2 separate regions of the Homo sapiens genome follow, and region 1 is linked to region 2. The links are contacts of gene promoters, found by promoter capture Hi-C in human tissues and cell types (Jung and others, 2019). All regions are on one chromosome and are shown on one strand. The core of a region is centred on a gene start or on the middle of the fragment in contact, and the rest is flanking DNA. Distances in the headings are between cores, read along the strand shown.

Evidence for each region. The method cuts DNA at HindIII sites, captures the fragments that hold promoters and counts their contacts. A contact is called where the count stands out against the background at its distance.
Region 1: a contact is called between the fragment with the promoter of OAZ1 here and a fragment that was not itself captured in region 2, in 1 of the 25 tissues and cell types used here (lymphoblastoid cells).

The regions. Positions count from the first base shown.
Region 1 is chr19:2,267,760-2,272,014 of GRCh38, forward strand. OAZ1 (ornithine decarboxylase antizyme 1) reads left to right here and starts at 1,727. Exons shown (of 5, transcript NM_004152.3): 1 at 1,727-1,985; 2 at 3,626-3,771; 3 at 4,023-4,195. The coding sequence starts at 1,840. It overlaps LOC105372240 (a long non-coding RNA gene), which reads right to left and starts at 1,494. Exons shown (of 2, transcript XR_936242.3): 1 at 1,343-1,494; 2 at 734-1,113. RefSeq lists silencers at 1,294-1,783, 2,749-2,808, 3,019-3,218, 3,229-3,568 and an enhancer at 1,426-2,040. The HindIII fragment of the contact is 6,913 bases long and covers 1-2,979 here.
Region 2 is chr19:2,410,790-2,415,181 of GRCh38, forward strand. It overlaps TMPRSS9 (transmembrane serine protease 9), which reads left to right. Exons shown (of 19, transcript NM_001395513.1): 11 at 2,911-3,229. Among named protein-coding and RNA genes, the nearest start is that of TIMM13, 15 kb to the right of the region's middle. The HindIII fragment of the contact is 6,937 bases long and covers 1-4,392 here.

The DNA.
Region 1 (4,255 bases), core at 477-2,976, 140 kb before region 2:
CCTCAAGGTGTGGATTTCAACGTGCGCAGTCTCCTGGGACCTCAGCAGGGCAGAGGATCATGGGATGCAGAGTCTCTTGGGGGGGTCCGTGGAATCCCCTAACTCGGGAGTCTCACCCAGGGTGATTCTGCCCCCGCCAAGGGACACTGGGTGATGTCTGCGGATACTTGTGGTTGTCACAACTGGGGGTGCTCAAGGCATGGAGTGGGTGGAGGCCAGGGACGCTGCTCAGCGCCCTGCAGTGCCCAGGGCGGCCCCAAATGTCAACCGCAGGAGTTAATTTCTGCCTCAACACCTGAATAGCGAATGCTCGTAGCAGAGATGCAACAACAGCCTTCTGGTGCAGTACGAAATCTCGAAAGACAGGCAGGCGCGGTGGCTCACGCCTGTTAATCCCCAAACTTTGGGAGGTCGAGGCAGGCGGATCACCTGAGGTCAGGAGTTCCAGACCAGCCTTGCCAACATGGTGAAACCCCATCTCTACTAAAAATACAAAAATTAGCCGGGCGTGGTGGCGGGCACCTGTAATCCCAGCTCCTCAGGAGGCTGAAGCAGGAGAATCGCTTGAACCTGGGAGGCGGAGGTTGCAGCGAGCCGAGATTGCGCCACTGCACTCCAGCCTGGGTGACAGCCAGGCCCGGTCGCAAACAAAACAAAATTAAAACCATGAAAGGAATCAGGATTTGCCAGGAGTAGCATTTTTGCTTGGTAAGAACAAAATTTTGTTTATACATGAAATAAAAAATATTTTATTAAACCTCACTGCAAAGTGGCAACTTTTTGCTAAATTCATAATTTAGTCTACACACAAGCTATGTACCCGTATGTGACTGCCAAGAGTTATATCTTTGCTTATTAAAAGCAAAGTGCAGTTCATACCTGAGATTTTTTTTCTGGATTTAACCAGGAGGGGAAATATTTTTGCTAGGTAAGTCCACATTTTACCTCACAGGCGAAACAGTTTACCGAACTTGACCACCAAAGAAATCGTTTTTTCCTTGGGAGATCCACATTTTAGTTCATACATGAGATGTGTTTCTGAATTTTAACTGCCAGGAGTAGTGTTTTTCCTTAGGGTAAGTTTCAGTTTCCACAGGAAAAATCTGAATTTATCTGCAAGGAGTAAAATTTTTGCTTAAGTCCAAATTGTACACGAAATATTTTACTAAATTTGAATATCTTTAACATTGGAAGTTCTTTTTTTTTAAACACTGGAAGCATTTTAAGAACTGCAAGACCAAATTTAAAAAAATAAAACCAGTAATATCATCGATGATTACCAGGTGTTACTGGAAATAATTCTGGCGCGGTTGGACAACCCCCCAAGCACCCGGGGGCCTACCCAGGGGAGGGGTCCCGCTGCGTGAAGGGACCCTAGGGAGGGCGACGTGGACCACGACAGACAAACGGGCACTCGAAGACCCCCGAAAATCGGCCCCAGCGAGCCGCCCCCGCCCCCAAGGCACGATTGTGGGGGCGGGGACGGCTCGGGGCGCGCGCAGCGCGTACCCGGCGCCACGGCAGCCCCGCCCCCAGAAGGACGCGCGCAGGAGGGGGCGTGGCCCGAGGCTCACCAACCAATCTCCAGAGAGCCTCTTCCTTTCCCTTTCCCTTTCACCAATCAGGCGCTGGGAGGGGCGGGCGCGACTTTTTTTCCCGGCGGCCCCGCGGCTCTGCCCCTCGTGCGGTCGCGTTCCCGGCGGCGCGGGGGGCGTGGCCTGGGCGCAGCATCTATAAAGGCGGGCGGCGGCAGAGGCGCCATTTTGCGAACGGCGAGCAGCGGCGGCGGCGCGGAGAGACGCAGCGGAGGTTTTCCTGGTTTCGGACCCCAGCGGCCGGATGGTGAAATCCTCCCTGCAGCGGATCCTCAATAGCCACTGCTTCGCCAGAGAGAAGGAAGGGGATAAACCCAGCGCCACCATCCACGCCAGCCGCACCATGCCGCTCCTAAGCCTGCACAGCCGCGGCGGCAGCAGCAGTGAGAGGTAAGTGCCCCGCCCCCGTCCGAAGCTTCCAGAAGCGCCGGCCGCGCAGGCCTGCGGGGGGCCGTCCTCGGGGCGCCAGATAGGTCCCCGGCGCGCGAGATCCGCCCCTTTGTCAAGGCCAGAATCGCGCCGGGGACGAGGTAGGCGCAGGGCGGGCCTGGAGGTCCCCCCCGGCCTTAGCAGTGCTCTCGGGGGAGTCGGGTTTGGGGGGCAAGGGTGCGGAGTTGGATTTGGGGGGCACCGTCCGGGGCGCCTGATTTGCGGGAGGGGCATGGGTCGGAGGTCGGATTTGGGCGCAGGACGGGGAGTCGGGGGAGGCGTGTGTCTTTTGCGGGGTTCGCGGGATGGGACTCGGCTTCGGAGGAGGGGAGAGGCTTCTGGTCGAGGGTTGGATTTGCGGGGCGCAGACTGGGAATTCGGTTTGGAGGAAGGGTGTGCGGTCGGGTCGGATTTGGGAGGCGCAGGATGGGGCAATCTGGTTGGGGGCGGGGTCGGCCTTGGGGGGCTGGTCCGCGGACAGGCAGGGCCCGCGGGGCTGGTGAATCTGCACTTTTCGGTCCCGGCCGTCGAGCGTGCGCTGCGGGAGCGGGGAGCGCTTTGCGGTGGACGAGCTCCCGCGGGTCCCTGTTGCCTCGATGTGGCCCCTGCACGCGACGGACCTCGTGGGCCCCGTTTTTCGCCCCTGAGCGAGTCGGTCTGGATGGCCCGGGACGCGCCGGGCGAGGCCGCGCACGTAGACGGCACCCAGGGCTTCTCCGCGGGGGCCGCCGGGGAGCTGGGGGTGGCGCACTCCGACAGCCCGGCAGCGCCCTGGGAAGACCCCCGCCGCTTCCCGGGAAGACGCGTCCCGCTTCCGGGGGCGCGGGTGCCAGCTGCGGTTGTGGGGGAGCCCGCGGGGTCTCGGTCGAGCTTTCCCGACTGCGTCCCCCGAGGTGGGCGTCGCTCAGCCCCGGATCGGGAGGTTGGGCCGCGGTGCTGGCGGTGCCGCGGTTTGGGGGCCGTGCAAAATGGAGGCAACTTTGGGGCCTGTTTACCCTGCGCAGCAAATGGCTGCTGGCGCTGCCGGCTGCGCGATTGTGAAAATCTCCCCCGGGGCGCGAGGCCGCGTCTGCCTGGATGACGCAACCGGGAGGGCCCGGGCCTGGAGCGGGGGCGGGGGGGCGGGCGGCCGGGAGCCGGAGCGGGGCGCGTCCTCCATGAGGTCAGGCTAGGCCCGCCCGGTCTTCGCGGGGACAAGCAAGAGTCCCAGATTTTGGCCGTAGTGCAGGGTGGAAAGGGGAAGCCGCGACAGAACTGAAAAGGGGAAGCGCTGGCTGTCTTGGTGGCCGGGGGGTGAGGCTCTGCCCCGGCGGGGCTGCGTGAGGGGAAGGGGCCCCCCGCCCTGGGAAGGTTGGGCTGTCCTGGGCGGCGCCGCCCGAGGAGTCGGGGCTCAGTGACTGCTGCCCTTGTAGGTGCTTGGGGCAGGCGTTGGAGCTGCCTTCGGGAAGCCTCGGGGGTGTGGGACCGGGTGGGCCCCTGCCTGGGCGGGGCGGGGTCTTTTGGCCGAGGCAGGGGTGGGGATGTGCTGAAGGCCGCCCGGACGCCCTGGAGGGGTCTCCGCCCGGAGCCTGGCGCTGCCTCGTGACCTGCATCATCTTCAGTTCCAGGGTCTCCCTCCACTGCTGTAGTAACCCGGGTCCGGGGCCTCGGTGGTGCTCCTGATGCCCCTCACCCACCCCTGAAGATCCCAGGTGGGCGAGGGAATAGTCAGAGGGATCACAATCTTTCAGCTAACTTATTCTACTCCGTGAGTATGGGGCCGGGCCTGCTGGGGCTGCTCTGGGGCCACAGGTACTTTCTTGTGCACCTTGCTGCCCGTACCTGTGATTGAATGTAATCGTGGGAACCCTGAGTTTCATCAGAGCCGGCGCACAGTCTCCTGCAGCCCAGGCGTTGCCTGAGCTCAACACGGCCTAGGCCCAAGCTTTAGCGCTGCCGGGTTCTTGGAGTCCTGTGGGGTGAGTCAGGGTTCTGAATTGGGCTGCACCCCCTGGACAGGATGATCGGCTGAATGTAACAGAGGAACTAACGTCCAACGACAAGACGAGGATTCTCAACGTCCAGTCCAGGCTCACAGACGCCAAACGCATTAACTGGCGAACAGTGCTGAGTGGCGGCAGCCTCTACATCGAGATCCCGGGCGGCGCGCTGCCCGAGGGGAGCAAGGACAGGTGAGGGGCAAGGACAGGCAGGGAGTGCTCACCCAGGGGAGCAGGGACCAGGTGAGGGGC
Region 2 (4,392 bases), core at 1,410-3,909:
AAACCGGGACTTGTGTGGGGACACAGACACTGTTCCCAGCACTGGGCCTGATACAACGTGGCACCCAAGAAACACCTCTTGTATGAATGATGCCAGCACATACCCTGGGCATCAGATTCTCTCCGTCTGTATGGGAAGGGTTGGTCTATGGGAACCCCGTGGACTTTTGCCCCTGGGTGGTCAGCTGGGCCATGAGTGAGCTGCAGGCTCAACTCAAGAAGGTTCCAGGGCTGGGCACGGTGGCTCACGCCTGTAATCCCAGCACTATGCGAGGCCAAGGCGGGTGGATCACTTGAGGTCAGGAGTTTGAGACCAGCCTGAGCAACATGGCGAAACCTTGTCTCTACTAAAAATACAAAAATTAGCCTGGCGTGGTGGCAGGTGCCTGTAATCCCAGCTCCTCGGGTGGCTGAGGCAGGAGAATCATCTGAACCTGGGAGCTGGAGGTTGCAGTGAGCTGAGATCACGCCATTGCACTCCAGCCTGGGCGACAAAGCAAGACTCTGTCTCAAAAAAAAAAAAAAAAAAAAAAAAAAAAAAAAAAGAGAAAATCAGGGGTCATCCAAAGCTGCTTCTGCTGTATACCTGGAACCTTCTTTTTCTTCTTCTTCTTTTTTTTTTTTTTTGAGATGGAGTCTCACTCTGTCACCCAGGCTGGAGTGCAGTGGTGTGATCTCAGCTCACTGCAACCTCCGCCTCCCAGGTTCAAGCGAGTCTCCTGCCTCAGCCTCCAGAGTAGCTGTGATTATAGGCATGCGCCACCACACCTAGCTAATTTTTGTATTTTTAATTAAGACACTGTCTCGCTCTGTCACCCAGGCTGGAGTGCAGTGGCACCATCTTGGCTCACCTCCCAGTTTCAAGTGGTTCTCATGCCTCAGCCTCCCGAGTAGCTGGAATAACAGGTGCCCACCACCACGCCTGGATAATTTTTATACTTTTAGTAAAGACAGGGTTTCGCCATGTTGGCCAGGCTGGTCTCGAAATCCTGGCTTCAGGTGATCTGCCCACCTTGTCCTCCCAAAGTGCTAGGATTACAGGTGTGAGCCACCAGGCCCGGCCGACAATTATAATTTTTGTTTTCAAGGTGTCTCATTCTTTCTTCTTTCAGCCACCTGGTCTTGTTTGCAGTGTCCTGTTCTTGTTTCGTGGATACCATTTCTTTCTTTTTCTCTGAGGATCGTAATTTAATCCGTTATGTTTCTTCTATATTCTATATTTGTGGTTAACTGTATTTCAGGCAAACGTAAGTTATTCTGTTGTAACTGAGTGTCTTTATTTCATGGAGATTGGAATCCCTCAACTGGTGCTTAAGAATGAAAAGCTGGGTGCAGTGGCTCACACCTGTAATCCCAGTACTTTGGGAGGCTGAGGCAGCCAGGTCGCTTGAGGCCAGGAGTTTGAGACCAGTTAGGGCAACATAGCAAAACTTTTGTCTCTACAAAAACAAAAACAAAAACAAAAATTAGCTGGGTTTGGTGGTGCATGCCTGTAGTCCCAGCTACTTGAGAGGCTGAGGTGGGAGGATTATTTGAGCCCAGGAGGTGGAGGTTGCAGTAAGCCAAGATCACGCCACTGTACTCTAGCCTGAGTGACAGAGTGAGACGCCGTCTCAAACAAAATTGAAAATTTAAAAATGTCGCTCAATTCTTGCCGTGATCTTATATTTGCTATTCACTTTCTCTTGGCGAGGGACATTAACAGTTTGTGTTCTTGGATTCTATGTACCCTTTCAAGGGACCAAAGACCTCCTGGTCTCATTTATCCTTTGTGGTTGCCCAAATCCCTTTTCTACCCCAACCAACCCAGGTCCTCTTGAGAAAGCTTTCTCTTGTGTCTTGAGCTTCTGCACATGGGCTGGGCTGCCACTTCCTCTGTCAGCCTCTCGTGAGTCTTCATGGTTTCTGGTCCACAACCAGGGATCTCTCCTGCCTAATTTTTTTAGCATGGCTGTGGATTCCTGTCTTTCTTGTGCATACCTTTGCTCTTGTTTCTAAGGCCTGGTGGGTGAGGAAAAGATGGGAGAGACTGCTACATGTGCTTAGATTGCCATATTGAAACCAGAATCTGGAGAAAATGCTAGGAACTAATGAGAGGGCTCATGTTTAAGAATGTAAGAGTCGGCCAGGCACGGTGGCTCACGCCTGTCATCCCAGCACTTTGGGAGGCTGAGGTGGGCAGATCACTTAAGGTCAGGAGTTCAAGACCAGCCTGGCCAACATGGTGAAACCCCGTCTCTACTAAAAATACAAGAAATTAGCCGGGCGTGGTGATGCGTGCCTATAATCACAGCTACTTGGGAGGCTGAGGCAGGAGAATTGCTTGAACCTGGGAGGAGGAGGTTGCAGTGAGCCGAGATCACGCCATTGCACTCCAGCCTGGGCAACAGAGCAAAACTCTATCTCAAAAACAAAAACAAACAAAAAAACGATACACAGAACGTAAGGGTCAGGGTGAACTGGATATGGGAAGGTAAAAAATGGTGAGGCCGGACGAGTGACAGCAGATGAGCACTTTGGGAGCAATGCTGCAGCTACCAGTGAGATATATGGAGGCACCCGCGTGGCAGCCATACTGCCAGCCTAAGCAAGTGGTGACATTATCAAAGATCTACTGAGTTAAGAAGAGGAGGGGATGTTATTTATTTGGGTCACGTTTTGGCCTGCCAGAGGTAGGACTGAAAGACATCTTAGAGATCCTATAGTCCAACTGTCTTGGGTTTTGTTTTTTTTCCTCCACAGAAGAGGAAACAGGTTCTGAGATGTCAATGATCAGCCCCAGGTGCTCTGTGAGCTTGTGTGGAGAGAGGTCCTGGCTGTCCCAGCTCAGAGCTCCTTCTTGGGCCTCGTAGCACTGGTGTCTGGACTGGCTGCTGCCGACCCATCCTGAGGGTGTGTGTTGGTTTCCTAGGGTGACTCAGGAGGACCCCTGGTCTGCGAGGAGCCCTCTGGCCGGTTCTTTCTGGCTGGCATCGTGAGCTGGGGAATCGGGTGTGCGGAAGCCCGGCGTCCAGGGGTCTATGCCCGAGTCACCAGGCTACGTGACTGGATCCTGGAGGCCACCACCAAAGCCAGCATGCCTCTGGCCCCCACCATGGCTCCTGCCCCTGCCGCCCCCAGCACAGCCTGGCCCACCAGTCCTGAGAGCCCTGTGGTCAGCACCCCCACCAAATCGATGCAGGCCCTCAGTACCGTGCCTCTTGACTGGGTCACCGTTCCTAAGCTACAAGGTATTTTCGGGGCAGAAAGGTAGAAGATGATGTACGTGCCTATCTTGATTTAGGGAGAACGGATATCGTCATAGTATCTTCATAATTTTGGATCTTCCTGTTCAAGGAAAGGTCACATGTGTATCCGTTTATTCCCATCTTACGTTGCGTGTACCCTCATGGTATCTTTCTGTCCACAGGTCTTGCCCATGTCTTGTTAACTATGGCGATCTATCAATGGGATACTTTTTTTTTTTTTTGAGACGCAGTCTTGCTCCGTCGCCCAGGCTGGAGTGCAGTGGCGTGATCTCGGCTCACTGCAACCTCCGCCTCCCAGGTTCAAGTGATTCTCCTGCCTCAGCCTCCTGAACAGCCGGGATTACAGGCACAGGCCACCACACCCGGCTAATTTTTGTATTTTTAGTAGAGACGGGGTTTCCCCATGTTGGTCAGGCTGGCCTCGAACTCCTGACTTCATCATCTGCCCACCTCAGCCTCCCAAAATGCTGGGATGACAGGTGTGAGCCACCATGCCCGGTCTGGAATACTTTCTATTGTATTTTCAAATAGTTTGTACCCAGACAACTTGTAGGACTGGCAGGGTGCGGTGGCTCGTGCCTGTCATCGCACACTTTGGGAGGCAGAGGTGGGCAGATCGCTTGAGGTCAGGAGTTCAAGACCAGCCTGGCCAACATGGCAAAACCCCATCTATACTAAAAATTAGCTGGGCATGGTGGAGGGCACCTGTAATCCCAGCTACTTGGGAGGCTGAGGCAGGAGAATCGCTTGAACCCAGGAAGCGGAGGTTGCAGTGAGCTGATACGGTGACATGGTGCCACTGCACTCCAGCCCGGGCAACAAGAGCACAACTCCATCTCGAAAAAGAAAAAAGAAAACTTGTAGGACTATATCTCTGTTTCCAAAAACTGTTAGTTGCATTCCTATTTTTTTTTTTTTTTTTTTCTGAGACGGAGTTTCACTCTTGTCGCCCAGGCTGGAGTGCAGTGGTGTGATCTCGGCTCACTGCAACCTCCACCTCCCGGTTCAAGTGATTCTCCTGCCTCAGCCTCCTGAATAGCTGGGATTACAGGTGCCCATCACCATGCTTGGCTAATTTTTGTATTTTTAGTAGAGTTGGGGTTTCGCCATGTTGGCCAGGCTGGTCTCGAACTCCTGACCTCAGG